2 separate regions of the Homo sapiens genome follow, and region 1 is linked to region 2. The links are contacts of gene promoters, found by promoter capture Hi-C in human tissues and cell types (Jung and others, 2019). All regions are on one chromosome and are shown on one strand. Each heading gives the region's core, a stretch centred on a gene start or on the middle of the fragment in contact. The rest is flanking DNA. Distances are from core to core; before and after follow the strand shown.

The links. The method cuts DNA at HindIII sites, captures the fragments that hold promoters and counts their contacts. A contact is called where the count stands out against the background at its distance.
Region 1: a contact is called between a fragment that was not itself captured here and the fragment with the promoter of ZNF799 in region 2, in 5 of the 25 tissues and cell types used here (bladder, heart left ventricle, liver and 2 more).

Annotation. Positions count from the first base shown.
Region 1 is chr19:12,127,099-12,130,557 of GRCh38, forward strand. No RefSeq gene overlaps it. Among named protein-coding and RNA genes, the nearest start is that of ZNF20, 12 kb to the right of the region's middle. The HindIII fragment of the contact is 9,523 bases long and covers 1-3,459 here.
Region 2 is chr19:12,399,460-12,403,071 of GRCh38, forward strand. It overlaps ZNF799 (zinc finger protein 799), which reads right to left and starts at 1,812. Exons shown (of 4, transcript NM_001080821.3): 1 at 1,609-1,812. The coding sequence starts at 1,611. RefSeq lists enhancers at 1,107-1,196, 1,917-1,966 and a silencer at 1,427-1,586. The HindIII fragment of the contact is 18,323 bases long and covers 1-3,612 here.

The DNA of each region.
Region 1 (3,459 bases), core at 16-2,515, 270 kb before region 2:
GGCTGGAGTGCAGTGTTGCAGTCTCAGCTCACTGCAACCTCTGCCTCCCAGGTTCAAGTGATTCTCCTGCTTCAGCCTCCCGAGTAGCTGGGATTACAGGTGGCCACCACCCCAGCCGGCTAATTTTTGTACTTTTAGTAGAGACAGGGTTTCACTATGTTGGCCAGGCTGGTCTAGAACTCCTGACCTCAAGTGATCCGCCCGCCTTGGCCTCCCAAAGTGCTGGGATTATAGGCATAAGCCGCCGTGCCTGGCCCCTGAAATACTTTTTAATATAGGGTGTAAGCCAGGCGCGGTGGCTCACATCTGTAATACAAATACAAATACAAAAATTAACCAGGTGTGGTAGTGCGTGCCTGTAATCCCAGCTACTCGGGAGGCTGAGGCAGGAGAATTGCTTGAACCCAGCAGGTGAAGGTTGCAGTGAGCTGAGATCGCACCACTGCACTCAAGCCTGGCGACAGAGCGAGACTCTGTCTCAAAAAAAAAAAAAGTGTGTAACAGTTGGTGAAAAGGTTCAAAAAAAAAAAGAAAAGAAAAGAAAGGTGACACTTAAATTTACATGACTTTTTTTTTTTTTTTTTTGAGACAGCGTCTTGCTCTGTCACCCAGGCTGGAGTGCAGTGGCACAATCTTGGCTCAATGCAAGCTCTGCCTCCCAGGTTCATGCCATTCTCCTGCCTCAGCCTCCTGAGTAGCTGGGACTACGGGCGCCCGCCACCACGCCCGGCTAATTTTTTGTATTTTTAGTAGAGACAGGGTTTCACCATGTTAGCCAGGATGGTCTCGATCTCCTGACCTCGTGATCTGTCTACCTTGGCCTCCCAAAGTGCTGGGATAACAGGCGTGAGCCACCGCACCCAGCCTACATGACTTAACTTTTTACCTTGTTAAACAGAGAGCAATCAACCCTGTGAACGTTATGTTCCAGATTCTGACAAGTGTGTTGAAAAAATTCTACACACTAAATGAAATAGGAGTAATGGGTGAGAGAGTGTGACCTTGAGTTTCAAGTTGGGGTAAGGGGGGCGGAAAAGAAGACAGTGTCTTGAGGTGGTGACATCTGTAGTGAGATCTGAAATGACGTGTTAGTATATGAAGTCAGGAAAGAGGATTCTGGGAAGATGGCAGAATAGGAAGTATCAAGCAGAAACTACAGGAAGCCATTTTTGTGAACTGAGTTCCTCTGCTGGGCCCTCAGAAACCAGACCTACCCCAGCGATTAGGAAATTACACCTAGGCAATCGTCATTGCCCCACACGCTACAAAGAACGTTCAGTAGACAATGGCTTGAGAAATGCGCCCAGTCCAATCTTTGGGTAAGCCAGGTGCAGAGATGTACAAAAAGACTGTCCTTGGCAAAGTTCTATGGTCACATGATGTTTGAGGCAGTTCTGCATATCATATGAGGGCCTTATTGGAGTTCTTGTGTATCTCTGCCAAGAGAGTACTGCACAGCAGAGGTCATTATTGCAACTTCCGTGCCATTTATTTATTTTGAGACAGAGTCTTGCTCTTTTGCCAGGCTGAAGTGCAGTGGCACGATCTCAGCTCACTGCAGTCTCTGCCTCCCGGGTTCAAGGGATTCCTCTGCCTCAGCCTCCTGAGTAGCTGGGACTATAGGAGCCCGCCACCACGCCCGGCTAATTTTTTGTATTTTAGTAGAGACAGGTTTCACCATGTTGGCCAGAATGGTCTCAATCTCCTGACTTCATGATCCGCCCGCCTCGGCCTCCCAAAGTGCCGGGATTACAGGCATGAGCCACTGCACCCAGCCACTTCTGTGCCATTTAATTGTTCACCAGTTGCCACAGGTCTATCTGTGTACACCTGAGTTGCTTGAGTGGTTCTAAACAAATGAATTTAACTTTCATTGTGGTGTTGAATTTTTGTATATACCTTTTATGAATTATTTTGACCGTGGGCTGACCAATATCATGAGTAAAAGATTTAAAAGGTCTAGAGGAGCCAGGCATGTTGGCTCATGCCTATAATCCCAGCACTTTGGGAGGCCGAGGCAGATGGATCGCTTGAGGCCAGGAGTTTAGAGACCAGTCTGGCCAACATGGTGAAACTCCAATTCTACAAAAAACACAAAAATTAACTGGGCATGGTGGTGTTCGCCTGTAGTGCCAGCTACTTGGGAGGTTGTGACGAGACTTGCTTGAACCTGGGAAGCAGAGGTTGCAGTGAGCTGAGATCGTGCCACTGCAATTCAGCCTAGGCAACAGAGCGACACTCTGTCTCAAAAAAAAAAAAAAAAAAGCCATAGGTAGGAAGCAAAATGTAAATAATGAGAAAAATATATATCTTAAGTTCACATTTGAAATATGTAAGAAAATTTGGTGATGCTGCAAATAAACTGAGGATTGTAATTATATAAATTACAAGTTTTTCCTGAGAAAAAACACATTTTCAACCTAAGTACATTGATCTTAAAGGATTTTTCCTTTGCTTTTTGACCTTGCTTTGTGAAAAAGTGCAAAAATAAGACATGAATAGTCAAAATAAGAATTTTTGGGCCAGGCGTGGTGGCTCACACTTATAATCCCAGCACTTTGGGAGGCCGAGGTGGGCGGATCACGAGGCCAGGAGATCGAGACCATCCTGGCTAACATGGTGAAACCCTGTCTCTACTAAAAAAAAAAATACAAAAAAATAGCCAGGCGTGGTGGCGGGCACCTGTAGTCCCAGCTACTCGGGAAGCTGAGGCAGGAGAATGGCGTGAACCAGGGAGGCGGAGGCTTGCAGTGAGCCGAGATCGCGCCACTGCCCTCCAGCCTGGGCAACAGAGCAAGACTCCATCTCAAAAAAAAAAAAAGGAATTTTTGGCCAGGCATGGTGGCTCACACCTGTAATCCTGGCACTTTGGGAGGCCGAGGCAGGTGGATCACATGAGGTCAGGAGTTTGAGACCAGCCTGGCCAACATGGTGAAACCCTGTCTACTAAAAATACAAAAAAATAGCCAGGCATGGTGGCAGGTGCCTGTAATTCCAGCTACTTGGGAGGCTGAGGCAGGAGAATCACTTGACCCCAGGAGGCAGAGGTTGCGGTGAGCCAAGATTGCACCACTGTCCTCCAGACTCTGTCTCCAAAAAAAAAAAATTCATATCTCACAAATCAAGGTATTTTCCATATGTCATCACACATAGTTAAGGTTTGGTCAGTCAGTGATTGCTTCTATGTCTGCTGGGACTGGGATTTTTACTCTAGGGAGACTGAAATAAGCTTTTGTGAAGAGAAGCACCCATGACACCTTAAAGGAAATGATCGGATTGTTCCATGCATGACTTTTCCACGATGTCATTAGCTTCATAATATTAGCATAAGAGGGTTCCTGACAAGTTTGCATCAACAGCATGTTACCAGAGAAAGAAAGACTTGATTGGAATAGTGATGCTGACTTTGTTCTTTACTGGGCAGGAAATTCAGTTTTCAAAAACATATTGGCCCCATAG
Region 2 (3,612 bases), core at 562-3,061:
AAGGTGAGTGTCCCAGGAGTTAGCTTTTTACAGGAATTATATACCAGAAGATTCCTCCCATCCCAGTGGATCCAGTTGCTCCCCAGGGGGCCACACCCCCCATCTCAGGCTGTCCCCTGGGAGGAGTGACCCAGGGGATGATATTCACTAGACCCTCCAAGAGACTTGGCAGCTGTGGACACCCTTTTTTTTTTTTTTTTTTGAGACAGGGTCGGCCTCTGTTGCCTAGGCTGGGATGCAGAGGCACGATCATAGCTCACTGCAACTTCAAACTCCTGGGCTCCAGCCATCATCCCACCTCAGCCTCAGGAGTAGCTGCGACTACAGGTGCCAGCTACCAAGCCCAGCTAATTTTATTATTATCATTTATACTAGAGACAAGGTCTTGCCATGTTGCCCAGGCTGGTCTGGAACTACTAAGATTAAGCAATACCTCTGCCTTAGCCTCCCAAGGTGCTGGAATTACAGGAATGACCCACCGTGTTCAGGAACCCAAAATAATTCTTTCAAGAAAAAGCCATACATTGCTAGCTGAAAACAAGATGACAAACTAGTGAAATATCGCCTGGGGGCCAAACAGTTCATACCGTTGCTGTGAATTAAGGACAGAAGGTTAGCCTGGGGAAGTCTCTGGAAACCAAGAGATTTGCTGCCAGCCCTAGGAGGAGTCAGGATGAGAGAACACAGTGGTGGATTTGAGACCCTGCTAACCACATCTTTGGAAGACTCAGAGGGGAAACGGTCGCCCTTGGAAAGAAAGAAGGGACTGAGGACCACGGAGACCACAGCTCCTCCCACACACAAACCCCACACACGAGTCTGGATTCCACCTGGTGACTCGTCGTCACCGTGCAGCCTCCTCACCGGGTTCACAGGAACTGCGAGCCAGGCTGGAGGCGAGATTGCAGTTAGATATTAACCAGGTGCCCTCAGCCCCGCTGCCTCAAGGGGCCGCCTCCCTGAGAGTCAGGTCACAGCAGACGCTGACCGCCGGCTTCCCCATTGTGCCTGGGGATAAGATCTCTGAGAACTGCTCAAGAGTCGCCGGAGTTCTCAGATCCTGAATCCCAGCAAAGGCTGGCGCCAATCAGGTTGAAGTCCCAACGAGGGAGCCCATTCAGCAGAATGCGGTTTCTTCACCTCCTGTCCCAGGATTCACCCCTCACTTCCCCACCAACCAACGACCCTACACCCAGCCGCCCCCGTCCAGACCCCAAATCCCTCAGGGAGGCGGATCTGGGGTGTCCTCCCCTCTCTGGCTATTAAACTGTTTCTGCTGCAGCCCTCAGCGTCTCGGTGCAGTGAGTCGGGCCGCGAACCTGTGTTGCTTACAGCCGCACAATCTCGGGAGACGCGAGGCTGCGGGCGCGGAGCTGCCCAGAGAGGGCGCCGGGGCCGCAGTCGCCGCGCAGGAACGGGACAGGACGCCCGGGGTCCCGGCTGCATGCCCAGCCCCACCCTGCGGCCGAGGGCCGACCTACGCCAGGGGAACCCGGGTCCGTAGATCCCGGAGTAGCCCTTGGGGAGGCCCGGGTCCAGCCACAGCCGATTACTGCAGGTTCCACCCAGCCCCTCCCCCGCCTCGGGACGCCGGCCCAGCACACGCACCATTTCCCGACTTCCGCGGTGTCCCAGGTCCTCCGGACGGCTCCCGCTGCCAATGCGGGTTCCCGCGGGACACAGGCTGCCACGGAACTTCCAGGTCGTCTCTTAGCTACAGAGCCGAGCACCGAGCGCCCAGCGCAGGTGGGTGGAGAAGACGCCGCGGGCTTTTTCAACCACACACTCCTCTGGGAAGCGCGCCTGATTGACAGTTCCCACGAACCCGCCCCACGGCCCTTACTGGATACGGCGTCAGGTGCCGCCCCTCGTGGACTGATTGACAGAAGAAGCGATCTTGCACAGCTGAGTGGAGCCAGATGAGCAAGTTCCTGACACAGCCCTTGGCAGGGCGGGCTTCCTCCCTGCTCTTTGATCTGAATCCTCCCGAGGGATATTTGCACTTAAGCGGAATTTCCTGCCTGTACTCAATAGGACCTCCTGCTTCTTCCTCCTGTACACTGACTGACAAAACAATTATACTTTTTTTTTTTTTTTTTTTTTTTTTTCCGAGAGAGAGAGAGAGAGAGAGAGAGAGAGAGGGAGTCTTGCTCCGTGGCTCAGGCTAGAGTGCAATGGTGCGAGGCTCACTGCGACCTCCGCCTCCTAGGTGGGTTCAAACAATTCTGCCTCAGCCTCCCGAGTAGCTGGGATTACAGGTGCGCGCCACCACACCCGGCTAATTTTTGTATGTTTTAGTAGAGGCCGGGTTTCACCATGTTGGCCAGGCTGGTCTCGAACTCCTGACCTCGTGATCCGCCCACCTTGGCCTCCCAAAGTTCTGGGATTAGAGACGTGAGCCATCGCGCCTGGCTCCAATTATACTCTTTTTCAATGAAATTTTTCAAAATATTTCAATGTACAATTAAATTATTTTTTACTATAGTCACTCTGTTGTGCTAGCAAATACTAGGTCTTATTCATTCTTTGTAACTATTTTTTATACCTATTAACCATCCCCACTTCCCCCATAACTACTCCTCGCTACTACTTTTCCCAGCCTGTGGTAACCATCCTTCTACACGTTTTTGGTTGTTTGAGATGGGGTCTTGCTCTGTTGCCTAGGCTGGAGTGCAGTGGGGCCATCATGGCTCACTGCAACCTCTACCTCCCAAGCTCAAGCAATCCTCCCACCTCAGCCTCTCAAGTAGCTTCAGATTGTTCACTGTTGGCATATAAAAATGTTACTGATTTTTGTATGTTAATATTGTATCCTGCAACTTTACTGAATTTATTTCTCAGTTCTAATACTTTTTTGGTGGAGTCTTTAGGTATTTCCAGATATAAGATCATATTATATGCAAACCAGGATAATTTGACTTCTTCCTTTCCTTCCCAATATAGATGCCCTTTATTTCTTTTTTTTTTTTTTTTTGGACTTATTGCTCTAGCTGGGACTTCGAGTACTGTGCTGAACAACAGTGGTAAAAGTGGGCATTCTTATTGTGTTCCAGATCTTACAGGAAAGGCTTTCAGTTTTTCCTCATTCATTATCATGCTAGCTGTGGGTCTGCCATATATGGCTTTTATTATGTTAAGGTAGCTGCTTCTATACCCAGTTTTTTTTTAGGGTTTTTATCATGAAGGGATGTTAAATATTATCAAAAGCTTTTTCAGTGCACATTGAAATGATTATATGGTGTTTGCCCTTTATTCTGTTGAAATGATACATCACATTGATTGATTTGCATATATTGAACCATCCTTGCATCCCAGGGATAAAGCCCACTTGGTCATGATGAATGATCTTTTTGGTGTATTGTTAAATTCAGTTTGCTAGTATTGAGTTGAGGATTTTTGCATCAATATTCATCAGTGACACTGGCCTATAGTTTTCTTTTTCTGACATGTCTTTGTCTGGTTTTGGTGTCAAAGTAATATTGGCTTTGTAAAATAAGTTTGGAAGTATTGCCTTCTCCTCTGTTTTGGAATAGTTTGAGTAGGATTGGTATTAGTTCTTTTTTAAATGTTAGTAGAATTCAGCAGTGAAGCCACTGGGTTCTGGGGTTTTCT